4 separate regions of the Homo sapiens genome follow, and regions 1, 3 and 4 are each linked to region 2. The links are contacts of gene promoters, found by promoter capture Hi-C in blood cells and fetal thymus (Javierre and others, 2016). All regions are on one chromosome and are shown on one strand. Each heading gives the region's core, a stretch centred on a gene start or on the middle of the fragment in contact. The rest is flanking DNA. Distances are from core to core; before and after follow the strand shown. Region 1 overlaps ASB7 (ankyrin repeat and SOCS box containing 7). Region 2 holds the start of LRRK1 (leucine rich repeat kinase 1). Region 3 overlaps LINS1 (lines homolog 1). Region 4 overlaps CHSY1 (chondroitin sulfate synthase 1).

Region 1 (6,631 bases), core at 1,985-4,484, 270 kb before region 2:
TCCTGGGTTCAAGTGATTCTCCTGCCTCAGCCTTCTGAGTAGCTGGGATTACAGGTGCCCGCCACCACGCCTGGCTAATTTTTTTTATATTTTTTTAGTAGAGACGGGGTTTCACCATGTTGGCCAGGATGGTCTCAATCTCCTGACCTCGTGATCCGCCTGCCTCAGCCTCCCAAAGTGCTGGGATTACAGACATGATGCACCGCGCCCAGCCAGCCCCTTCTTTTTTTTACCTTAGCTAAGCAAATTCTAGTAATTTAGTTTTTACCACTATTTTGGATGATACGTTTTCATTTAAGTATGCCTGTATACACATACGTCAACTCTTTCCTCTTCTGTTTTTTGCCTGAATATGTTATGGTGGTTCTTTTTATTAATATTAAAAAGGGCCTGGCATGGCGGCTCATGCCCTTAATCCCAGCACTTTGGGAGGCTGAGGCAGCTGGATCACCTGAGGCCAGGAGTTTGAGACCAGCCTGACCAACATGGTGAGACCCCATCTCTACTAAAAATACAAAAGTTAGCTGGGCGTGGTGGCACACGCCTATAATCCCAGCTACTCGGGAGGCTGAGGCATGAGAATAGCTTGAACTTGGGAGATGGAGGTTGCAGTGAATTGAGATTGCACCACTGCACTCCAGCCTGGGCAATACAGTGAGACTGCATTGCAATAAATAAGTAAATAATACTTAAAAAGAGCCCGTCATCTATTAGGAAAATCAAATTCTTTAAAGAAAGAAGATTCACATGTAATTCACATTCCAGTTTGCATTTGCAGATCAAATACTGTAAGCATTTACTGAAAAATGACAATGATAATTTATTCTTTTCCTAAAGTAGCCCATGAATAGTGTTGAAAAATAATTCAAAACAGGCTTGGAAATGATTTGCTGTTGACCTGAGTGTGTTTTGCAGCACGTTGACTGTTTTATACTTTAAGGACAAGCCTATTAAGCATTCATTCAACTCATATTCGCCGAGTACCGTGTCAGCAGTTGGGTTTACATTGGCAAATGGGGCCAGACATGGTCCTCCCCTCATGGAGCATGTCATATAGTGAGGAAGATGGGCATTAATTAACACGTAATCACCAAATAAATGTGAACTCACAACCTTATTAAATGTTATAAAGGAGAGGAACTCTGGGAGTATCTGATGGTGAATCCTGACATAGTCTCCTGTGATGAAGTGCTATTTTGGCAGAGATCTGAAAGGTGGAGGAGACATAATCTTCCCAAGAGGCACATGAGTGTGTGTGTGTCACATCCCTGTACAGATCCATGTACAGACATCTGTGGATACACATACTCCTAGTTTACAGACATTTCCAAGAAAGCTGTCACTTCTGCTGCCATTCTGTTAAGAGACCACATAGCAAGTAACCTCTCGAAAAGCGTATGTTCATACAGGCCTTACAGAGCAGAGGTCTAAGTCAGCCTTTGTCATTTATGAAGAAGTACTTCCTTTTGAATAACGGTGATCACTGTAAGCAAGTACAATGGATATGAGGGATAAAGTACAAGAATAGTTTTCCAAGTATGGTCTAGTGGGCCCTGGAGTCCCCAAGACCCTTTTAGGGTAACTGTGAGGTCAAAATGATTTCTTCCCTTTTTTTCTTTTTTAAATAGAGAATGCAAGCCACAGTTTCTGTTTTATAAACACGAACTTTTGTATTATAAATACAAAATAAGAAAAGACAGTGATATGTTAGGTGTTATGAAGGGTGAAAACTTTATATAAACTTCAAAAGGCTGCTTTCTGCATCTGCATCAATGTAATTTCATGATTCTCTACCAATTTTCATTTATAGAAAGAATCTCTATAATCAAATTATCATTCGAGTTCATGCCCCCCGGAATATCTGTAGGAATACAGTTTATTATCTGCTCCTCCACTCGGAAGGAGCCCTGTGTCTGTCTAGTCTGCTCTCAGAACTTTCTCTTCATGAGCAGCCACATCATAGAGAGGAGCCTTACAACTTCTTGAATCCCACAGCTTGACGGTGTTATATAAGGATCCTGAAATCTGCTGTGGTTCATGGGTAGGAGACCGTTTTACTGATGTCTCCCAACCTGTATGTGAGGTTAGGGACGGCAACACGAAAGAACCATCTTTAGTTTGGGGATCCCACAGTCTGATATGCCTATCTGTGCTTCCAGATGCTAAACATTTACAAAGTGGAGAATAGGAAATACAATTAAACACTTTATTTCCTGTAAAGTTGACTTAAGATTGCCAAACGCGACATCCCACACGCTAATTTCATGGTCCCAAGATACGCTGCAGATTTCTTCAGCATCTGACCACAGCACTGAGGAGATTGCTTCCTTGTGGCCAGAGAAGGTCACTATGGGAGTCCTTGTTAGTCCCAACTGCTCTGTTTTCTGTTTCTTTCTTGGTCAGTTTGTGGATTCCTCCATTTCATCTTCTTCTGTAGGGACAGTAGACCAGATCCTTAGCATCTTATCTCAGGAGCCACTGCAAAATTTAGTTCCTGAGCTATCAATAGCTGTGGAATCTACACTTGGGCAGCAGCATAGGGTTTTCACTTTGTTTCTCTGGACATTCCACTCCCATAAGAGAATAGTCTGATCCATAGAGCCACTCAATAGTAACACAAACTGTCTTTTGTCACCCAGGCCACATCTGTTAACAATATCCATGTGTCCCACAATTGTCAATGTTGACTTTCCTTCCAAGGACCAGATTCGAGAAGTCTCATCATAAGAACCAGTCAAGATCCATACCTCTGTCCCTTGAATTGAACTGGTCCACTCATCAAGGACACTTCATTCTGGTTGGGGTGCGGTGTACTTCTCCGCGTATTCTCTTTCCACAACTTCTTTTAAGGAGGTGTTCTCCCGTTCCATGTGTTTGACCAAGGGCATTCACAGAAACTGACCCTTAATAAGGAAATCAAACTCCACATATTTGTGGAACTCATTTCTGCCCTTTAGTAATTAATTGATGATGTTACTAAGGTCAACACTTTAAGAGACAGCAGGGATTGAGAAGGCAACATCATTGATGGCCTATTTCTTGTGATCAGTGTAGAAGCTTGTTTGCAGCTGAGCCATGTCAGGGAGTGTACACGACTTGCCCACAGTTATGGGTTAGTAGGCTGAGAACGGGAGCTCCTGTCTCTTAGGACTACAAAGAGACAGCTCAAAATTACACTGCACAGGTAAGCGAGAAGTTGCGGTGTAATCCCGGACTCTGTTTTCTCTCCATGGGTCTCCTCCTGATTTTCATAATAACACTGAGACATGATTTGCCTTTCTCTCATTCCTTTTATCATGAGTGTCAGTTTTTTCCAGAGACGAGGTGGTGTGATTGATGTGACTTATCTCAACAGATTGAATTCAGAAGCATATATGAAAATTCAGCTATCATCTATTAAACCATACATTAAAAGCTTTGCAAAAATGTGAAAGAATGACGTTCTTGTTAAATTTTTTTTTGGTTTTGGAAAATATAGTTACTTTTCATAATGATGTGTTATTTATGTTAACATGTAATGGTTTATTAGAATGAATTTAAAAGTATTTCTAAAATGTCTGTTTTAACTTATAATATGGCATTTACTATAGAGATAGCCCACATAAAAGTTTCTGGGGGTTCGCAATAATTTTTTAAAGTGTAAAGGAGTTTTGAAAACAAAAAGTTTGAGAATGACTGAAAAATGGCATTCAACTTGACTTTAAGCATGTTACTTAATCTCTCTGAGACTCTATAAAATGGGGATGATGATCAAAGTACTTCCCTCGTAAAAGGATGAAAGGAGTTAATACATGTCATGAGCTCTTAACAATACATGGCGCAGAGTAAGTATTCAATATATATTAGCTTTATTATCATGTTTAATATGAAAGCAAAACTTCCTTGACTCCAAACACTACTGAAGCACAGTTGAAGAATTCTTCCTTGTTTTTGGAGCCATCTGTATTGTTTTTGTAAAACAAAATATTCCAAAGGGAAAGAAATAGGATTTTGTGATTTTTCTTTTGAATTGAGATATAACGGGTTTTTATTGGCAAGTGATCAGGGTGTGGAAGCTTGAAGCGATGTAGATTCAGAATACCTTGAGGCGCTTTTTCACACCCCCTTCTGCTGCACTCCTCAACTGTCAGCCTTACAACCAAGGTTCTGCTGTGTTCAGAATCACGGAAAACAGGTGAGCAGATCTGGAAAGCTTGTTTGGAAAGCTCCACAGAGACCGTGGTGGGTGTCCGGGCTCCAGTGTCCTAGACCCAGAGCTGAAAGGGAGGCTCACAATAGGGGACATCTCTTTCAGTCCCCACACTTTTCAGATTGAGAAGCCAAGGCTCAGAGGAATGATTGGCTCACAGTGGCTCACCCAGCGTGAGAGAGACCTAGTCAGGACGAGAACCAGAATTTTCCTGATTTATAACAGAAAGGATATGAGGCTTAGAATCAAAACTGTTTTTGGTCTCAGTTGAAAGCCTTAATTGGTTGTCTGATATTAAGCAACTTGTTTACATCTGATACTCAGTTTTCTTATTGGTAAAATGGAGTTGAAAATATCCACCATCCCACGGTTGTGAAAAGGATCAAATAAGGCATCGCATGAAGGTCCTAGGACACTTTGAGTTGGTATCTTTCCGGTCCTTTGCATGTCAAGTCCATAGAGAGAACTTCCAGGGAAATGAACAGTTCTTTTCAAAAGTGCCTTAAATATTGTGCTTTGTGGCTTTGTAACATTTTCTTTTTTCTGTCTTTTTAGGACAGCCCAGAAACTTGCAGGACCTGTGCCGAATTAAAATTCGACAATGTATAGGCCTTCAAAACCTAAAGCTACTTGATGAACTACCAATTGCCAAGGTCATGAAAGACTACTTAAAACACAAATTTGATGATATCTGATATGCCAGAACTGTGAGCAAGATTAGGAGTTCTATTCTAGATACTTAAAAGGCTTTTTGCCTTGCACAAAGTATATCCTATGCAATTTCTGATTTGCTGTGAAATCAGAAAGCAGGTATACACTTTTGGGTTTTCTGTTTGTTTGGTTGGTTTTCATTGTAGGGGAGGGATTTTTTATATATATATAAAAACACACACCACATGCTTGAAGGTCTTAATTTGGTTTCTTGGTCCAAGTTTAAGAGGTCCAAGCTTTGTATACAATACTGCATTTAGAAAAATTGTCTTTTCTTAAATGACACAAGCAGGTTTAGAGTGGAGAATTTACCCTTTCCAAATTTATGGTTCCTTGGTAAGCACGGTATTCTAAACCAGCAGAGCACTTGTTAACGTTTGGAGGCACAGTTTCACCCAGGGCGACCCTGGGTTCTTTTGGAAAATGCCCTAAGAAATGTTTGAAGTAACGCTGTCACCTCATTCATTTTTAATGAGTACAAACTGGCCGTTTCAAACTGTTCTTTTTCCTAATTAATGTAGCTTTCGGATGACATAAATCCAGTATCTCTGCTTATGACATAAATCCAGTACCTCTGCTTTTCTTTTGCTGTGCTCTTGTTTTTAACTTATTTTTTTTTTAACAACTGTAGTACACTACCCTGAGACACTGCATCTCGATTTCTATCTCTAGTTAGAGTTGTACTTTTAAAAAAATTAACGGGAAAGAAAATAACTTTGTGAAGCCAGTGTATTCTGTTTTTAAAACTGTGCCTGCAGTGCAATACTCCTTCTGGTGTATTTTATCCATTATTTCACTTGCTGGTCGTCATTTCACAGCCAGCTTTGACATGCCCGTGAGGACAGGAGCCGCCGCTTCAGTTGTCACTGCAGAGCCATCGTATGTCAGTTGCAATTTCCATCTGAAGCTATGTCTTTGACTTCACTTTAAGCAGAAAATTTTGTACCCTGGTGGTCGAGTCTTCCCTTAAAAATTGTTAAATCATTTGGCTTTAATGGTTCAATAATTTGGGGTGGCTTCATGGTGTTTCTTTTCTTCCCAGTTTAAAAAAAAAACTTTTTAAGCGTAAAATCTTTAAGGGGTACACATTTATAAGTCTGGCTAATTTCTAATATGCTAATTAAACATTTCCCATTTTAAGGTTATATACAGTGAGGCTCTTCAGGACAATTATTTTCTGGGTTGATTGGGCATATGTTTGCCGTGTAAACACGGATATGATAAAGTGTCAGTAACAATGGAAAAGGTCCCAGAGGCATTAGGCATCTAAGAGGATGCCCTCAGAAACGTATTCTGGCTTGATTTGTGTTATTAACTTCAGAAGAACCTTTTCAAATGTCCCAGTATCGTTCTTAGTGCTTTGGGAAAAAATATTTAACACACTGTTAATAAATTTGTTATCAGAAGTTTACAAGACGAAGGGCTTCTCTCGTCTGAATTTCTAGATTTAAGTCATGAAGTGTAAAACTGTTTCACCCAGAAGTGTAACTAAGCAGAACTAGGAGTTTTCTCTGGCTTCACCTTTTTCAGAGCCAGCAGTGCTGTTTTCTCAAGCACAGCGTTTGCTCTTAGACTCTGATCTGCTTGTGCCTAAGCATTGCACAGGTTTCCGAAGACGGGCAGCTTCAGAGAAGAGGATTATTCGGGAGATTGCTGGTGTGGCCCATAGACTCTTTGGCATAGACTCTTTCGCAGGCAGCCACTCTGAGTGTGGCCAGTTCTATAACCATC
Region 2 (6,314 bases), core at 3,768-6,267:
TCACAGACACCCCACCGTCCACCAGGCTCTCTCGTTTTGCTCTCTATTGCCACCCCAGGGAATTCACCTCTTTACTTTTTTTAAAATCCCCTTCATTCTCTAAAGGGAAACCCTTAGTCCTGGCCATTTCAAAAGCATCACACAGAAGAAGACCTTGATATTTACATTTAAGTCACATATGCAGCTACTGACACTTACTAGTGCTGTTATAGTCCTGGCTATTATTCCATGAGGTCGTCACATTTTAACCTTTTGCATAAGCCTCCAACGGCCTGATGGAATGATGAAGCCTCAGAACAGTTTCTACACAATGGCTAAGGGATGTACCCATTTTGAATTTTCCTCTTTTCTGTGATCACAGAGGTGAATACGCTTTGGCCGAATACACAGAAGTGAAAACTGTCACCATCAAACTTGGCGACAAGAACCCCTGAAGGAAAGGCGGGGCTCCTTCCTCAAACATCGGACGGCGGAATGTGGCAGATGAAATGTGCTGGAGGAAAAAAATGACATTTCTGACCTTCCCGGGACACATTCTTCTGGAGGCTTTACATCTACTGGAGTTGAATGATTGCTGTTTTCCTCTCACTCTCCTGTTTATTCACCAGACTGGGGATGCCTATAGGTTGTCTGTGAAATCGCAGTCCTGCCTGGGGAGGGAGCTGTTGGCCATTTCTGTGTTTCCCTTTAAACCAGATCCTGGAGACAGTGAGATACTCAGGGCGTTGTTAACAGGGAGTGGTATTTGAAGTGTCCAGCAGTTGCTTGAAATGCTTTGCCGAATCTGACTCCAGTAAGAATGTGGGAAAACCCCCTGTGTGTTCTGCAAGCAGGGCTCTTGCACCAGCGGTCTCCTCAGGGTGGACCTGCTTACAGAGCAAGCCACGCCTCTTTCCGAGGTGAAGGTGGGACCATTCCTTGGGAAAGGATTCACAGTAAGGTTTTTTGGTTTTTGTTTTTTGTTTTCTTGTTTTTAAAAAAAGGATTTCACAGTGAGAAAGTTTTGGTTAGTGCATACCGTGGAAGGGCGCCAGGGTCTTTGTGGATTGCATGTTGACATTGACCGTGAGATTCGGCTTCAAACCAATACTGCCTTTGGAATATGACAGAATCAATAGCCCAGAGAGCTTAGTCAAAGACGATATCACGGTCTACCTTAACCAAGGCACTTTCTTAAGCAGAAAATATTGTTGAGGTTACCTTTGCTGCTAAAGATCCAATCTTCTAACGCCACAACAGCATAGCAAATCCTAGGATAATTCACCTCCTCATTTGACAAATCAGAGCTGTAATTCGCTTTAACAAATTACGCATTTCTATCACGTTCACTAACAGCTTATGATAAGTCTGTGTAGTCTTCCTTTTCTCCAGTTCTGTTACCCAATTTAGATTAGTAAAGCGTACACAACTGGAAAGACTGCTGTAATAACACAGCCTTGTTATTTTTAAGTCCTATTTTGATATTAATTTCTGATTAGTTAGTAAATAACACCTGGATTCTATGGAGGACCTCGGTCTTCATCCAAGTGGCCTGAGTATTTCACTGGCAGGTTGTGAATTTTTCTTTTCCTCTTTGGGGATCCAAATGATGATGTGCAATTTCATGTTTTAACTTGGGAAACTGAAAGTGTTCCCATATAGCTTCAAAAACAAAAACAAATGTGTTATCCGACGGATACTTTTATGGTTACTAACTAGTACTTTCCTAATTGGGAAAGTAGTGCTTAAGTTTGCAAATTAAGTTGGGGAGGGCAATAATAAAATGAGGGCCCGTAACAGAACCAGTGTGTGTATAACGAAAACCATGTATAAAATGGGCCTATCACCCTTGTCAGAGATATAAATTACCACATTTGCCTTCCCTTCATCAGCTAACACTTATCACTTATACTACCAATAACTTGTTAAATCAGGATTTGGCTTCATACACTGAATTTTCAGTATTTTATCTCAAGTAGATATAGACACTAACCTTGATAGTGATACGTTAGAGGGTTCCTATTCTTCCATTGTACGATAATGTCTTTAATATGAAATGCTACATTATTTATAATTGGTAGAGTTATTGTATCTTTTTATAGTTGTAAGTACACAGAGGTGGTATATTTAAACTTCTGTAATATACTGTATTTAGAAATGGAAATATATATAGTGTTAGGTTTCACTTCTTTTAAGGTTTACCCCTGTGGTGTGGTTTAAAAATCTATAGGCCTGGGAATTCCGATCCTAGCTGCAGATCGCATCCCACAATGCGAGAATGATAAAATAAAATTGGATATTTGAGAAACATTGTGCTTTTTCATTTAAAGACCAAAGTCATTTGAATTCGATGGCAGGCCTTTCTCTTTCTGAGACCTGTACGAAATGGCTGATATTAAAGCAGGATCAATAATGTAAGCATAAAATTACATTTGCTCAGTCAGTCGGGCCCAGTGCTTTGCCTGAGTGTGAAACCCATTTCTGTGGGCTTGGGGGTTGACCAGGCAAGGAGCTGGGCCTCAGAGGTTCCATGTCATAGCTGGCTGAGTTTCAGCTGTTATCTAAGCTGCCTGAGTCTCCTTTTATCATAAAGTAGTGATGGTGTCAGTGTGCGAAATGGTGGGGAGGACTGCATGAGGATTGACGGACAGCATTGTGCCCCTGACGGTGAGCACAAGTGTCTGTTTTTGTCACCTTTTCCTCTAGAGAAATCTAGAGGATCTAGAGAAAGGATCAATTTGGGTTTTACTGACCTCAAGTTTCTAAAGCTTCTAACCAAGAAGCCTCAATCACCCCGTTGTGAGCTGACGCTGCCATTGGCTCAAGATCATTGCTGGTACTGGGGTATGTCCTCCAAGCTCATCCCTTGCATTTGATGTGGAAAGCCCAGATCATTTTGACATGGGTGGCAAAGCACCACCACTTTAACAAAAAAGGGAGGCTGGGATCAGATCTCTCGTAACATATGCACTTATGTTAAGAGAATTTAGACACATTATTTAGAGACATCCCATTTCTCAATCCAAATGTGAGCAGGAAACTGTAGGAGAAGGATATTTTCCCTCATTTGGTGTCCCGGAACATGACTCCCTGAAGGGAGCCATTCTGGGGACAATTGGAGGGTGTGGTATGCGTGTGCACACATGCATTTGTGTGCCTGGTGTGCGTGTGGGGGTTGGCACCTCTCTAGAAGTGGACCCTTTGGGATGTCCTAGCTTCTCCTGCTGGTGGATGAAGCCTTTCTAATGGCTTTGCTCCTTGCTCCTAGGCATGAGCTTGAAGGGGGATAATGAAGGGCGTTTAGGAAGTTGCTCAAGGAAGACTGTCTGAGGAAACTGCGTACTGGGCTGAAGAAAGACAACCGGAAAACACTGAAGGAGCGCTCAGCCACTGCACCTTCAAAAAGGCAGAAAAGTCAGTTCAGGGAGGTGCCTCCCAGCTACCCCACCCACCTCAGGAGGGGTCATTCCAACCTAGGGTGCTGAGAATCTGGGTGGGATTACCAGCAAAAGCTAGAGAACCATGGGTCAGCGACCCTTAGGAAGAAGTGGAAAGGAGTCTTAACTTACCTGCAATAACCTTCCTATGCGAAGTTGTGGCTAACGCATGCCTAATGGCTAGAATTAAATGCTGGGAATATAACGAGCTCAGCACAGGTTATCCGCGTGTCAGATGTTCCTGCTGTCTTCTACAGTGGGGACATTTCCTAGCCTATTCCCAGGCTCCTTTAGAAGGGAAGTGGAGGTGCCCCATCTTCACCTGCCGCGTCCCCTCCAGCGTCTGCCCGGGCCCTGGGCCTGCGCTCCCTCGCGGTGGCGCCAGGTGGCGGGGCTGCGCGCCCTGGAGGAGCTGCACCGCCGTCGCGGGGCTCTCTCAGCACTGAGGACACCACGCCCTGCAAATTGTTGGGAACTTGTCGGTGGCAATCACACTGCTGGCTCCTGCAAACTGGTGTGAGGCCCTCAGGGGTGAGAACAGGATTGCAGAACTGCGCTCACCCTTTTGGAAAGTCGTCCAGTGGCAGAAGTAGCCTCCCAGGAGCAGAGCGAAGCTGCTCGGTGGTCCCCTCTCCAACCAGGGACCCAAGAAGCCGCTCAAGGGAACACGGCCCCGCGGCGTCCGGGAGGTCCTGCAGGAGCCCTGCGGCTGCCCCGGTTCTGTGAAATGGCAGTGAGGGTGGGGGAGATGTGCGCTAAATCCTGGGAACGTGCGAGTCATAACTTTCCAGGAGAGGGGCCCAGGGCGCTGGTCCTGCAGGGCGTGGAACCCTCTGCTCTTCCTGAGCAGGCTTTGTCCCCGGGTCGACACGGGGAGCTCAGCGTGAGGCCCGCCTGCAGCGTGGACGCAGATCTTTTTTATGGTCTGCGTTTCTGTATTAGCCTCAGCAGCCTGGTGACGCCTTTATAAAAGGTCGAAACACGATAAATTGCCAATATTCCACGTTTTATGTATTCCCCCCAAAGCCGACAATTAACAATGACTCACCGAGCAGCAGATTCTTTGCACACATCCATAATTGAATCAGTAAAATCCATGTGTTGGAGGATATGCAAATTGCAGGTCGTTAACGCTTTAGAACGACACATTTCTGTATCGCCCCGTGAAGAGCTCTACGCACATGAATGTTCCCCGTCTGTTTAACTGTTACGGCCGCAGTGTGTGGGCCGCAGGCGCGCTGGGGGCTCATCTGCTGATTTTGCTGCCCCTGGAGCAGAGGGATAGCGAAAGCGGGGCTGAGCGCAGCACGGACCGATCCCATCGCCGCGCTCGCCCCGCGTGGAGGCAGCCGGGTGCCCGAACCTGAAGGAGGACCCGGTGCCGGAAGGGCCCGCGGACCCCGGCGTCTCCCGGGGCATCGAGCGCCATCGCCCGCGTTTTACGGCCAGGGAAACTGAGGCGGCCGCCGAGGGGACGCCTCGCGACGGTTCCTGGGAGAGCTGGCGGCGGCCTTGCTCTGCGCGCTCTTCGCGCCGCCCTCCCCGCCCGCCCGCCTCAGGATTGAGGAAGTGCGTCTGGGCCCGGCCCCGGCGCGGGGGGCAGACGGCGGTGGGACGGCCAGGCCCCGGCCCCGCCAGTGTGTCCGCCCGGCCCCGCGTCCCGGAGCGCCCGCACCCGGCCCCGCCGCCGCCTCAGGTAAGCGCCGCTCCTGCCGGCGCCCCCCGGCGGCCTGGCTGCCTCCCGGCCCCGCCCGGGGAACCCAGAGCCCGCGCCCGGCGCCCGCGGGGAGCCTCGGCCTCTGCCTGCCCGCGGGCCCCTGCGCTCCGGGCGGCCGCGTGGTCGGGCACGGGGGGCCGTTGCGCAGGGGCCGCGGCCCGAGGGGCGCGGAGGGCGTGTGGGGCGACCCCGGTCTCACGTCCCCGCTGCCTCCCGCCGCGCCCGGAGCCCAGCCAGCCTGTGGGAGGGGAGCGCGCGGGGCCCGAGCAGGGAACCCCGAAACCCCGTCCGGGCAGGGTCGGGAAAGCTGGGAAGCGGAGGCAAGAGACACGAGTCGGGAGACACGAGCCGGGGAGCCCATAGGTTTCCTCTGCCTTTGGAGCGAACCCAGTCCCTTAGCGGGGAGCGGGCGGAGTGTGAGCGCGCGGGTGAGCCCGTGCCGGGGTGTCGGCAAGAGACCGCCCGGGAGCCTCTCGCTGGTCCGGGGCTTCCTGGGGTTGCGGGGCGGCCCAGCGAGGCTTCACCCTCCTCGATGTCTGGGTCACGCTTCTTGCCCAGGTGGTCTCTGGCTGGCGCAGATACAACTGCTCTGTCTACCATGGTCTCTGCAAGCTACAGGGGACCTTCCTGGCAGGCAGGGACGCGGGAAGGAAGCCTAGGAAGGCCGGGGTCAGCGAGGAGACGCTGGTGGAGAATCTGAGAACCCCCGTGGCCATCTCAACCTACCCCTTCACAGTATGAGGCCGCGAAGTTTTTCTCCCACGAACACTTCCCCTGCAACAGGTAGAGAAACGGGGGCATATAGCTTTCAGCAAACCTCTCACCGTGTACACTAATGATAGAGTTTGCCAGCCACTCACAGGGTATCAAAATGCCCAGACATTAAAGGGATAGCTAGAACATGCACAATTTTGGAAAATGTTAACATTAAACGCCTTTTATGATTTGATTCTCTTCATCTTTGCCTATGTCCTGAAAGAGAAAATAATATAACAAACTAACCTCACACCTAATTTGTTCCTAAAGGAGGTTTTGCGGTCAGCCAAACCTTTCCCTCTCCCAAAAGTCGATGTCTCTGGCAGTGACCTCGCAGTCAACTCGGATCCTCAGATAAAAAACATTCAGTCTGTTGAATCTATGTCTAAAATGTGTCCTGATCTGTCCCCTTTTTCTTATGCCCC
Region 3 (6,869 bases), core at 4,364-6,863, 320 kb before region 2:
TCTTTGTTCAAGACGCCAAGAACCTGGACACCCATCAACTGATAACACTTTTGGATTTTTACGGAGGCTTCTTTACTTAGGCATGGTTGATTAAATCACTGGCCCTTGGTGATAGACTCAACCTTGAGTCCCTCTCCCCTTCCTGAGACTGGGGGTAGGGCTGAAAGTTCCAACTCTGAGCATAGGGCTGATTCCCTCCCTGCAGTGAGCACTCCATCCTGTAGCCATCTAGGTGGTCCAAAAAAATCACCTCATTAACATAACCTGGGGTGTGTGAAAAGTGTTTATTATAAATAACAAAACACTGCCTTTTACCTTTAGTGCTCTGAAGCTGTCTTGAGCTGCTTCAGGAACCCAGGACAAAAGGCCATATATATACTTTAACAAAAGATCAACTTATTGTTCTAGTCCCATAGGAAGTAATAGGCTTAAAGGAGATGGGCCTGTAATCTTAGATGGAAATCAAAAAATATTCATCTTAGTAATACAGGTCACAAATGCCAAGGGGCCAGGCAGCTAATGAATGAATGACGACAATAGGTGCTAGGCTGTTTTATTGTGATCAAGTATAAACTCCTCTTAATTACACTGTCTTTAAAATAAATGTCCGTGGGTAGCCCATTGGAATTGAAAACTGTAGTTTGTATGTGTTTTTTAAAGCAATTGTGGTATTAAAGGAAAGGACAAATCCTTAAGAAAACAAACTAGGGGATTTAACTGACCACAATTTTTTCTGAAGTGGATGCTCTGAGGTTTGCACATCTCATTCTGCATTATCATGCTGGCCTGGGGGAATGTGTACTCTTCAGACAACAAGCTTTTAAGAGACACCAACAAACCCAAGTGTCTGACGGAGGGTGCACAGGATGCTGACAGGCTCTGAGGCCATCTATATGATAAATGAACGATTTCTCTAGCCTGGAAACAAACAATTGGGGCAGTCTTACTAGGTAAGTGAAGGAGCAGTGATTCTCTTAGTGTTTTCTCTTGGCAGAGGAGCTGAAATCCCACACCAAGTGGCCTAAGGGTTACCCATATTAAGTATAAAATCTATCTGAAGCCTCTGTTTATTTTTTAAGTTCTGTAAACTATTTGAATTTTGCATTATATGCCTAATAAAACCATGTGTTTATTAATATAAAATAACATACTTCCCACCCATCTTCACATAAAATTGCTGTGTTAGGAATACGAATCGTTAAACTTTATTGAGTACCTACTATGTACCAGATACTGCTCTAAGTGAGTTTTACAACTTTATGGGGGGGGGGGGTGCTTAATTATCATACCCATTTTACAGATAAGAAAACTAAGAGAGATGTTATGTCACAGAGCTTCAGGGACAGAGTCAGGATGTGAAGCCAGAAAATCTAATATCAGAGCCTGTGTCCTTCACCACTCCACCAAAGCACTCTTCAAACTTCCATTGGTGCTCCAAAAGCCCAGGACAAGAGTTCAACATTGGACTTCAAATTAAATAGTAACTCCTACAGCTTAACTGTTCACACTGTAAAACAATAGTGCTCAGAAACATTTTCACATGCTACGCGAGATCTAAAATCAAGGTCAATTACTATGCAATTTCCCAATATAAACTAAGATTAATTTTTTCAAAAGATACTCAGCAACTACAGGTTGAAATGTTAATCAGGATAGCGATTTGACTGAGTTTTTAAAATTGTATAGTCACCCCTCGGTATCTGTGGGGGATTGGTTCCAAAACCCACCAAGGATACCAAAATCCATGGATGCTCAACTCCCTGGCAAAAAATGGCATAATATTTGCATATAAACTGTGCACATCCTGCCATATACTTTAAATCATCTCTAGATTACTTATAATACCTAACACAATGTAAGTGATGTGTAAATAGTTGTTACACTGTATTGTTTTGATTTGTATTATTTTTATTATTGTATTGTTATTTTTTATTTTTTCTGAATATTTTTTTATCTGAGGTTGGTTGAATCTGTGGATGTGGAACCCGTGGATCCAGAGGGCCGACTATAGTTCCATTTAAGCCCCAGAATCAACAGGCCAGCATGGTAATCAGACCTTCAGGGGTCTTTGATTTTGGTTAATGATCACGAATCTTGTGGGATCAAATGTTGTTGGCAGTGCTGCTGTCAGTGACACGGTTTTCTGGAATTGTGAGTTTCTGAACAAAACAAAGGGCAGTTATCCCTCAGGATCCGTGGGAGATTTGTTCCAGGACTCTCTAAGGATACCAAAATCTACAGATGCCCAAGTCCCATATATAAAATGGTGTGGTATTTGCATATAATCTACACACATCCTCCTAGGTATTTTAAATGATCTCAAGATTACTTAAAATATTTGACACGGTACATTGTAAATGCTATGTAAATATTTGTTACACTGTATGGTTTAGAAAATAATGACAAGAAGAAAAAATCCATACATGTTCAGTGCCAACTCTGAGCATAGGGCTGGTTCCCCCTGGCAGCCAGCACCCCATCCTGTAGCCAAAATTTTTCCCCAATTCCCTAAATATTTTTGATCTGGGGTTGGTTGAATCCAGGGGAGCAGAACCTACTGGAATGGAATCCGTGGATATGGAGGGCTGACTATACTTTTAGTGGCTATACCAAACCCGGCAAGCTCCTCATGAAAAATCAACAATCCACTGTTCCTCCTCGGGCATCAACAGTTCATCCACATTAAAGGCACTGTGAATAAGGGTTACTATGACCTTGATTTTACTTTCTCTAAAATAACTCCAACCTTTTACAAAAGTCAACCCTAAATGGGTCATGGCTGTAAACTTTAAACTTTTAGAAAAAAAATGTAGGAAAAATCTTAGGCATCTGAGGCTAGTCAAAGGGTTCTCAGACTTGACCATAAAAGCATGATCCACAAATGTAAAAACTGATAAACCGGAACTCAGCAAAATTTAAAACTTGCTCTGCAAAAAAACCCTAAGAAGATGAGAAGACAAGCTACAGACTTAAAGAAAAATATCTGCAAAGCACATGACTAGTACCTAGAATATATAAAGAACTCCCAAAACTCAACATTAAAAAAAAAAATTCAATTACAAAATGGATCAGACATGCACAGACATTTCACCAAAGAGGATATAAAGATGGCAAATAATCCCACAGAAAGATGCTTAACCATATTAGCCATTACAGAAATATGAATTAACACTACAGTGAACTACCACTACTAGAAGAGCTAAAAATGACTCCAAATGCTGGGGAGGATGCTGAGAAACTAGATCTCTCCTACACTGCTGGTGAGAATGAAAAACGGCACATCCTCTTTGGAAAACAATTTGTGGTTATCTTTAAAAAGATATGTCTATGTTTGAATTCAGAATACAAAAATAATCTATTTTCATGGTCAATATTAGAAGTAAAAAAAATTACTAGTTTCTTTATATGATGTGGCTACTACATAGACTAATAGACTGGGAAAGTCAATAGTAGGCCTTCCCCTAATTCAACAACAGTTGGTTCAAATCTGACCACAGCCCAAGAGGCTACTTAATCTATTTTGCTCCATTAATGAAGATGCAGTGACAACTGTCGCGGAAGTTGAGGCCTCCAAACCCAGGCTGTCTTCCAGGATTCTGGTTCCCTCCACCAATCGAAACTGCACTTTTCACAGAAAAAATAAAATGGGTCTGGTTAGACAAGAGCACCTCCCTCCCCTATTAAAAGAAGTGGGGCAGATATCTTCCGACAGCATGCCATGTGCCAGTATCTTCCCTTTAGTTCCATTCTTCACTCTCCTCTGTGCCCCAACAGACTCCAGGAGATTTGGAGTGGGAGGGGCGGAAGGCAGGCTGGACTTTCAAGCTCCAGGAACTGCCAGCTCTCTTTACCTTCAGGGCTAAAGGGGGTGCTGGCGGTTACTGGCCTTGGAGTGCTACACCATCCTTCCTTTTCCTCAAAACAATAGTACTCAAACTGTGTCATGCACTAGACAGGTTTATGAAAGCAGACTGCAGGGCCCTATCCTAGGAGCTTCCCATAAGATAGTTCTGGGGTGGGGCCCAGTAATTTGTATTTCTAACAAGTTTCCAGGTTACTTCTGAGATAGTGAGAATACAAACTCTGTCACGTGTTTGTAAATTGTCTTCCTATTAAACTCTTGTCTTAGGACTCTGAAACAGGCCAGATTTTTTTGGCATGAAGGAAAAGCCTGGCAATCAAGTTATAGATAAAAGACTTAATGCTTAAATGCATTTTTCTGTCAAAGTGATATACTGGTAACAGCCTGATGATACAGGAGCTAGAAATTATTTAGACAGATAGTGAGGGTAAGAGAGTCCTCGGCAAGGTTTCCCTTTTAATAAAAAGCAGCCCCCAAATCATTTCTTTTCTAACAAAAAGCGGCCTGAAAAATCAAGCTGCAAGCATAGATACACAAGTAAAAGCTTGCATAGGTGAATGCCGGCAGCTGTGCCAATGGGAAAGGGCTACCTGGGGACCAGGCACAGATAAGAATGTAACAGAGGAAGCCTGCTGCAATTGGTTAAATCCAAGATGGCCAAAAACTTGACTGAATGCATACTCTTGGCTGCATTATGCCCCATTACCATAAAACTTCCCTGGGGAAACCGCCCACTCCCTGCCACGTACCTGAAGCTATGGCAGTTCCAGATTAACCACATTTAGTCAAGAAAAGGGTGGCGCCCTGATTCTGGGAACTGCCCACCCATTTCCTGGAAACCCTCTCCTTTCATCATAGAATATTTGTGCCTTCATCATGCCTGTCTGCGTAGCGAGCCCTGACCACATTACACGCCTCTTTTGAGCACATCCAGGCTCCTCTTTTGAGTGTGCACTTGCTTTCACTCTGCAACAAACCTTCTACATTTTCACTGTGGTCTCCCTTTCAAATTCTTTTGTGCAGAGAAGCGAAGAACCTGACCTGGCCTACTGGCAACAGTATCTTTCTCAAGTAGCTCTATTATGTGACCACTCCAAAGGCAAATCTTTTTTTTTTTTTTTAAACATAGCACAAATTAATGCTGGACATTAGAATCATAACGTGTTCATACTAGAAAAAATCTCAAGAGATAATTTAGAGATAATTCTCAAACCGTAGCATCAGAATTACCTGGAAGGCTTATTAGAACACAAATGGCTGGGCCCACTTTGGAGATTCTGATTTAGTGGGTCTGGGAGGGCCCAAGAATTGAACCAGGGACTACATTTTGAGAACCACTGCACAATCTACTTGATTTATTGATGAGGAATCTCAGCTCCTTAGGTTTTTATATGCTAATGCTAAGCATTTTTAAAATAAATGGAAATTATCCAGTGTATCAATATGAATACTTTTCTATACTTAGTTGCTAAATTATAACTGTATGTTTTAAGTGGTACTTCAGAATGAAATATTTCACTGAAAGGTTTTCCTTAGTCTTCCCCTTTTCCAGTCTATGCCTTGTCCCTTTTCCATCTGCCCCCACAAACCCGCCACCAGTGGCAGGGTAGCGTTGAGGAACTGTCTATAGATGTGATACTGTCTAGATTTTACTGAACTCCTAAATTCTGTACACAGACAAGATCTGATTTTTCAATTGATAAAACGAGATTATCTACCTACCTCAGCCAAGTAGCATACTCAAAGATTTGCAAAAATTAAATGGCTTATATGTGAAAACACCTGTATAACTCAAGTAGGAAGATGTCAATATGTCTTTATTTATTAACCTTGAAAGGTTCCTTCCAGCCTCTGGGCCTTGATACAATGCTTCTCCTTCCACCCACTTTCCCTTTTGTTTTAGGCTTAAATATGACTTTCTTTGGCAGGGGTAGGTCCTCCGGTGATACTGTCTTCCAGCTCTGGTGCCCTGTCTTACAGAATGTGTCACAATTATACTTTAACGATTTGTGCAATGATTTTTATGATTTAGAGTTGTCTGCTTGGTTCTTCCCTAGCTCCTAGCACAGCATTTGATACACAGTAGGTACTTATATTTGTGGAATACATTCCTGGCTGAAGATTAATTTAGTAGTGTATATGTAACAATCCTAAAATCAGTCCCAAAGTATATTTTAGTACCGTTTTGATCTCAAAAAACTTTAAAAACACCATGTAATATTTTAAGTTGTGAATTTTAAATTATAATAAAAATGTAGTATCAAAGAATTATAAACAGTAGTATCCATAGCAGGGATTAAGTTCTGAGCTCATTCAGTCTTTACCGTATGACACATCTGACAACGTACTTGACAGAAGCAACACACACTGAAGCACCATCTTAAAATGGCTGTGGTAGAATACCATAGAAGACCAAAATCCCTTAAATTACCAGGGCAAGAACTATAAGGAACTCAAAAGCCTCCAGTTAGCTTCCTTTCTTTCGGCGTTCTTTTTGCTGTGATGACCAAGGTCTGAAATACAATTTCTCTACCCAGCCCCATCGCCTTTTCTGCCAGGTACAGCTGAACTAAGTTGGGCTAACAAGGCAAATGATGGGCTCCAAACTGTGCTGCATCTGTCTTTATGGTGGCCCTCTTTATTACACCAAGATCCCCAGACACAACCTGCTGGCCCAGAACACTGCCTGCTGCCAACTAGAGCATAACCTGCTCATTCTCTCCACCACCAAGTGCTTTATGGGCCAGGACACAGCCTCCTGGGCAGTGGTCCTTGACCTTGGAATCTGACCTTGACACTGACATCACTGGAACATTAGGAAAAACCCATGAGCCTTGGACTCCCTAGAGACCAGCTAAATCAGAATTGCTGCAGTGGTGCTGGGGCATTTTTCCAATGACAAAGTCTCTTTCTACTCAAGAAATAAACTCAATTCTGATTGAGTCAGGGTTTCATGAATCAAGCTTCATGAATACTTATCCCAAATTATTTCACTTATATGTTGTAA
Region 4 (6,626 bases), core at 4,037-6,536, 330 kb after region 2:
AACTCTAGCCACCCTCTGCAGCAGCAACACCGCTGGGCTGATCTTCCAAAACACACATCCCATCAGGCTACTGTCCTGCCGAAATGTCACCAATAGCTCTGGACAGCAACCACACAAAGCCTGGCACGCAGACCTTCCCTCCATGTCCCTGCCCACCACTCTACCACCCACAGCCTACACCTAGCCCCAAAGAGCTGGCCTTTCCCATCGCTCCTTCACTAACTCCTGCCATTTCATGTTGTAGGAAACCTGTAGTTGTCTCTGCCTCAAAAACACCTCTTCATCTTCCAAGACTCAGCTAGTGGGTAAAAAAAGGGTGGGAGTGTGGGTGAGACATTTCTTGATCCATCACCCACTGGGTGTAAGCCTCTTTCTTCTGCTCCCCCACAGTGATTAGTTCACGCACCCTGACAGCCCTCATCAACCAATACCATCGCTCGTTTCCTTCTGAGACAATGAACTCTGCAGAGACTAGGGCCCTGTATTTGGAATCTACTGTTAATAAAGAGCAGCTTAGTTAACAGACAGGGGAACGTGAAGCTGCCGGTGCAATGGAAACAGTCACGCACAATCCGCTATTGACAGCCACATCTATCCCTGGAATCAATCCGCTATTGACAGCCACAGCCATCCCTGGAAATCCCTGGAATATTGTTTGAGCGCTTCAAGATCTTGAACCTGACATAAAAAACTACACTCATTTTCAGAGCCACATGGTTCCCTAGTCTCCTACAGGAAATTCACGATCTGAAATGACTTGGTGCTCCAAAAGTTCACTTACAGGTTGATTATTTGGATTTTACATGGAAAAGCCTTCTGTATAAATGTTTGCCAAGTTGAATTCTATCTAAGAAAGTGAGGACTGCTCTGAACTGTTTCAAGATAAACATGGTTTACTTAGCTCAAGAAATAAGGAAATGAATTCAGATTTATAAGATAGGAGGATCTCATTAAGGTTGGTAGAGGAACAGTCCGTCTTCATTTAAGGCATTAGGAAGAGATCATTCACTGATAATAGTATCCTGAAATCAGATTCCTATATCTCTAGGTAATGCTTCTCAAACTTTCTTCCCACAGTCCCCTACAGACTGATGCTAATCTGTAATGGTGCCCTTGTTCAATCTTGGCGCAAAGAAGGGAAACCATCCACCTCTTTCTTCTGACAACATAAAAAAAGAACAAAACTATTCCCCATCTTCAGCCCAGAGAGGGTAAGAACCAAAACAAACAAAAGGTGTTGGATTAGCTCAAGGTTCTGGGCATAAAAATGGACGAATAAGCAAAATACGTGTGGCTTTTTTTTTTTTTTAATCAAAACGTTGATTAAAAAAATCTAAATAGCACAGAAACTCTCTCAGCAAGAAAAGGTAAGTGTAGCCAAGAAATGTTTGAAGCAGATGAATAACAAAGGGGAACTTGTCCACCGGATATTAAAATATTATTCAACCTCCAATAATTTCAATGGGTGGTACTGGCACAAGAACAGACAGAAAGTTCAACGGAACAAAACATGAAGTCCAGAAACATACCCAAGAATTCTGAGCATGACGAAGATGGCATTTCAAACTGGTAGGGAAATGAGAACTTAGTCAACGGTACATGGTGCTGCGACCACATACTATTTGGGGAAAAAATAAAGTTGAGATGATTTCTACCCTTTCTAGAATTAGGAAGGAAACGTTACCTTTAAAAATCTCTCCAGGGCAGTAACTGTGAACCTGGGGTAGAGAAAACTAAAATCAGAAAGGGAAAGACATAGACTGAACTACATGAACATTTCCCTTCCATATATCACAGAACATAACTAAAAAGAAAATGTTTAAATATGGGAAAAATACGAATTGCAGCTAGTAATGCAAGACACAAGAAACCCAGAGGTTCTGACAAGCTGTCCTTAATTTGCATAATAAATGACTTCAGAGGAATCACAGTACCATTTTAAAGCGAAATTACCTAGAACACACACTTGCAGATGAGTCAAAATAAATTATTTTATGTGTTAACTTACAGAACCCCAGCTACCCACCTCCTTTTCCTGCATAAACCCTCCAGTGGCTTTCTAATTCACTCAGAATGAAACTTTACAAGACTGGACACTAGCGAGCCCCTTCTTGGGGCTCTTCTTTTACTGGCCTTCTTGGCTTTCTTTCTTTTACTGGCCTTCTTGGTGTTCCTTTCCAAGCCGGTCCCTGCCTTGGGACTTCCCGGTGCTTCCTTGGCCCTCATGCTCATCAATGATATTCACACAACTGGCTCTTCATGATCAAATCTCAGCCCAAATGGCACTCTCTCCAAACTCTTCCCTAATCACCTAACACAGAGAGGACACACTTGCCCTGCCCCAACCCTGTTCTATTTTCTCTACAGCATCCATCACTAGCAGAAACCCTCTTTTTAGTGTCGTCCCTCTGACTAAAGAACATGACAGCAAGCCGTGTACTGCAGTGTCCCCCAGGACTCAGGGTCGGGGGCCAGAGGGGCCATGCATGCATGTGCTTTACAAAGAAATGGATCCTAAGTAACGAATCAGGATCACTCCTATTAACTCCACAGCTACTGTGTCACTCAGGGCCTCCAAAGCTCAGCCCTGGCTGGTCTCTCACCTGCTACATTTTGAGTTTTGTCTCGCCTGCTTTGAAAAATCTGTTTCTTGTCTGCTATCAGCTGTCACTGCCCTGCTATATCTTGGTGGCCCCCATCCATCCCTCAAGCAGATGGCAGGTCTAGAAAGTAAAAATGTGTAATGATGGAGATGTTCTATCATCAAAGTGCTGTGCCTTTAGTGTGGACGGGCATATCTCCTTGGATTTTCAAAAGCTTTTTTAGCCCCTTTCTGGATCTCAGAGTTGTTGGAATGAAGAGGTTGCTAGCTACTAGTCCCTTCACCTAAATTCTGACATTTTCAGTATTCTACACCAAAGTATCATCTTACTGAAAGTGCTGGCATCTCCTTCATCTATAAGCCAAACAACAGTTGTTTTTTTGTTTTTTTTAAAAAACAAAACTACAGTTTTCGATAAGATGAAGAATGAATTTACCTTTCAGGAGAAATGTAAAGCTCAGCACATCGATTTCCAAACTAGAGTTCTACCTTGTGCTAGAAGAGTCAAGCTTACTTTTATACTGAACTGTGCATGGAATTTCCAATTTAAGAGCTCAGTGTGGACTTTTGGTCTGGGCTGCAAAGCACAGTAAAACTGGAATCATATGTTATACCCTATAACCTCCATCCCAATTGAGGCCCTCCCCAAAAGTTCCTTAACTTTTAGCCTTAAGGCTAAAATCGTCTTGTGCCAACTCCTGCAGTCAGTCTAAACACAGGGTTGGCAGGCAAGAGGCAAAGGACCCTAACTGGCAGGGCAGGTCCACCTCCAGGCTCCATGCACTCTGACTTCTTAAGATCTGAGAGATAAAAGGAAACTTCTGTGAGAGAGCTGGAGTGACATTAGCTGGACACTATCTCCTGGTAGGCGTTTTCCTTTCTCAGAAAGGCAGAGGTGTCAAAAGAAAGGGAGAACCCCGCCTGGGGGCAAACTGTGTTTCTGCTTTCCCCTAACCACCTGAAAAAAAAATAATAAATAAACAATGAGATTAAGTCTTACATCCAGAAAAAGATGAGGGAAGAGATGTGGAAAGGAGGCCAAAAGTAAGAGCGTTAAGCTCGAGTTTGGAAAACCATCTCCAAGTGTGAAACAGTAGTTCTAGTTTGCATTACATTTTCTTTTACTTATTTTCTTTTTTTTGAGACGGAGTCTTGCTCTGCCCCCCAGGATGGAGCGCAGTGACGCAATCTCGGGTCACAGCAACCTCTGCCTCCTGGGTTTACGCCATTCTCCTGCCTCAGCCTCCCGAGTAGCTGGGACTACAGGCACCTGCCACCAAGCCTGGCTAATTTTTTTTTTTTTTTTTTTTTTTGCATTTTCAGTAGAGATGGGGTTTCACCGTGTTAGCCAGGATGGTCTTGATCTCCTGACCTCATGATCCGCCCGCCTCGGCCTCCCAAAGTGCTGGGATGACAGGCGTGAGCCACCGCGCCCGGCCTGCATTACATTTTCTGAGTATTGCTGGTGCATTAGGCCCCCCACTGATTTGAATATATTGATACCGTAACCATGAAAATGTATTTGGTTCAGGGGGCATGGGGGAGATAAGGGAGTTACCTAATTTACTGTTTGTACTAACTGGTTTGTTAACTGTCCCCAAAACTGTGATTTCACATGGTCTATCACCACACTAGAGTCATGCGGATTTACTTTCAAAACCATGCTGTAAATAATCTATATGGCTCATCCTCGATTTCCGATACGGCTGTTTCTCTGGTCAAAAAAAAAAAAAAAATCCCATAAAACCTCAGGTAATGCAAGGTAGATCTGGGAGAGATCCTGATAGGCTGGTTCCCAAATCACTGCACTAGTCTATGTATCTCTATCTATCGATCGATAGATAGAATTTTTTTTTTTTTTTTTTTTTGAGATGGAGTCTCACTCTGTAGCCCAGGCTGGAGTGCAGTGGCATGATCTTGGCTCATTGCAACCTCCGCCTCCTGGGTTCAAGCGATTCTCCTGCCTCAGCCTCCTGAGTGGCTGGGACTACAGGTGCACGCCACCACACCCGGCTAATTTTTGTACTCTTGAGTAGAGACGGGGTTTCACCATATTGGTCAGGCTGGTGTCGAACTCCTGACCTCAGGCGATCCGCCCGCCTCGGCCTCCCAAAGTGCTAGAATTACAGGCGTGAGCCACGGCGCCCCGCCTGCATTAGTCTGTATTTACAATACCTGCATTCTAAGCTTTTCAAGCCACTCAGGACCCTTCCTGGCGGAATGTGGGTTCTGGACTTAAGCAGGACCCTAATGGAAATGTGCAGGAATGGGGATCAAGCCATTCAAGGGGCAGTCACTGAAGACCACTTTCACCTTCTTTCTCAGTCCTTTACTTTCTCCCTTAAAGGCAAGGGAGACCATATATGCTTTTCCCCTCACAACATCTAGTGCCTGAAAAATCTGACCAAGACTGCATTTAAAAACTGAAGTGTAAAGGTATTGGTTATAAGAACAAACAGCAACCAGCTTAGCCTGGCTCAGCACTGGCTGCTCTGAAATTTCATTACCAGACAACTGATGCTCTAAAACCATTCCCCACATTGGTTTGCTCTGTGGCTGGATAAGACCCAAACTTTATCCATACAGTAAGTGTCTCTATACTTCACACATATAGGGTTTCCATCAAATCCCTTTATCGAGTCTACAACCCTCTCCAACTTCAAATTCACTCCAATACAAATCTGATTCTAACCATGCCAGCCATTCCAAAATCATCTCCCTTCTAGAGACTACATTGGCTAATCCCTTTGTTAAACCTGAACACAATTCCAGCTGCTTTTATGACTCATTTGGCCAACTAGAGCCCAGTTACTGGATAACATGCATACACCACCAAGCTGAACTAATTAACACCAGAATGCAGTTTTCCACTGAATCTACCAAGGGCCAAGAACTGCTTTTCCCCAAGGTTCTCTCTCTCTGTACTCAACAGACTGGTGTGGTCCAATATGCTGCGGGCATTCTCTTTCATTTATAGGAGTGCCTCCAACTGCGAAATGTGAGAGTATGATGTGGAAAGGTTCTAGAACTAGATTAACGTACACGGGCTCCAGCTTTGCAAGGACAAAGGTGCACATTTTAGGGAATCCAGTATCAGCCCCAACTGCCTCCACTATCAGGTACTGTGCTATGAGTTTTCCAACATTATGAGGGAGACCCGATCTGTCGGGCCCTTCTAACGAGAAGCTTCGATTTGCAAAGGCTAAAGTGCCTTCATCAGGGTGAGAGGTACACCCAGCGAGGCCACACTAGTCCATCTGACCCCAAAGGCCATGTTCCTGAGCGCCGCGCTCACCATCCCGCCTCTGATCTTTTCTCCCTCGGCCCGGCGTCTCCCGAGAGGCAACCCGATCCCGCCGGAAGCCCAAGAAGGGCCTAGGAAGCGGGCGGAGGCGAGAGCCAGGAGAGCACCCGGGATGCCGGCCGCCGGGATGCCGGACGCAGGAGGCGGTGCCCGGGGAGCAGGGGCTCACCTGTAGGCGGCCACGGCCCGAGTCTGCAGGTATTTCTGGGCGGTCATGACTCCCACGAAGAGAAAGTTCCTGTCGCGCGGGCCGCCATCTGGGTCCGAGCCGGGCGGCCAGAGCTGCGCCCCGCGCGCATCGCCGCGCGCCCCGCCGGCCTGGGAAGCCGCCGCCTGCCCGGACCGGCAGCCCTCGGGGCTGGCGCGGCGCCGTGGGCCCGCTCGCTTCAGCTCGGAAGCCCGGGGCAGGACGAGCCGCGAGGCCAGCACGAAGCCCAGGACGAGCCCGAGCAGCACGCTGAGCCAGGCGCGCCGGCCGCGCGCGGCCATGCCCGCGCCGCTCCGCCCGCCGGGCCGCCGCCGCAGGCTCCGCGCGCCCTCAGCCCGCTGCCCCCGCCCGCGGAGGCCAGCCCGCCCTAGCGCCGCGAGGCCCGGCCCGGGCAGCGCCGCCGCCGCCGCGGGCCCGCCGCGCCCATCGCGGCCCCCGAGCCGCCCGCAGGCCCCGCGCCGGCGCTTTGTTCCGCACGCCCGCCCCCGCCGCCGCGGCCTGCGCCTTTAAGA

Evidence for each region. Contacts are between HindIII fragments. The CHiCAGO score rates a contact against its expected background, and 5 or more counts as called.
Region 1: a contact is called between a fragment that was not itself captured here and the fragment with the promoter of LRRK1 in region 2, in 3 of 17 cell types (endothelial precursors, M2 macrophages and M1 macrophages). The highest score is 7.5, in endothelial precursors.
Region 3: a fragment that was not itself captured here is called in contact with the fragment with the promoter of LRRK1 in region 2 in 2 of 17 cell types (naive B cells and total B cells); the score reaches 6.3 in naive B cells.
Region 4: a fragment that was not itself captured here is called in contact with the fragment with the promoter of LRRK1 in region 2 in 4 of 17 cell types (naive B cells, total B cells, M2 macrophages and 1 more); the score reaches 8.8 in naive B cells.

What each region holds. Positions count from the first base shown.
Region 1 is chr15:100,643,579-100,650,209 of GRCh38, forward strand. It overlaps ASB7 (ankyrin repeat and SOCS box containing 7), which reads left to right. Exons shown (of 6, transcript NM_198243.3): 6 at 4,745-6,631. The coding sequence ends at 4,884. It also overlaps the pseudogene WDR12P2. Among named protein-coding and RNA genes, the nearest start is that of ASB7, 44 kb to the left of the region's middle. The HindIII fragment of the contact is 358 bases long and covers 3,056-3,413 here.
Region 2 is chr15:100,914,340-100,920,653 of GRCh38, forward strand. It overlaps LRRK1 (leucine rich repeat kinase 1), which reads left to right and starts at 5,018. Exons shown (of 34, transcript NM_024652.6): 1 at 5,018-5,112. It overlaps ALDH1A3-AS1 (ALDH1A3 antisense RNA 1), which reads right to left and starts at 4,944. Exons shown (of 2, transcript NR_135827.1): 1 at 4,465-4,944. ALDH1A3 (aldehyde dehydrogenase 1 family member A3) reads left to right here. Exons shown (of 13, transcript NM_000693.4): 13 at 362-2,287. The coding sequence ends at 434. RefSeq lists silencers at 3,685-3,904, 4,665-5,254 and enhancers at 3,690-4,282, 4,035-4,124, 4,175-4,294, 5,469-6,060. The HindIII fragment of the contact is 4,524 bases long and covers 2,746-6,314 here.
Region 3 is chr15:100,592,299-100,599,167 of GRCh38, forward strand. The region is part of intron 1 of LINS1 (lines homolog 1); the gene reads right to left. Among named protein-coding and RNA genes, the nearest start is that of LINS1, 6.5 kb to the right of the region's middle. The HindIII fragment of the contact is 2,419 bases long and covers 4,405-6,823 here.
Region 4 is chr15:101,245,062-101,251,687 of GRCh38, forward strand. It overlaps CHSY1 (chondroitin sulfate synthase 1), which reads right to left. Exons shown (of 3, transcript NM_014918.5): 1 at 6,076-6,626. The coding sequence starts at 6,395. Among named protein-coding and RNA genes, the nearest start is that of CHSY1, 3.7 kb to the right of the region's middle. RefSeq lists silencers at 5,972-6,401, 6,592-6,626. The HindIII fragment of the contact is 999 bases long and covers 4,788-5,786 here.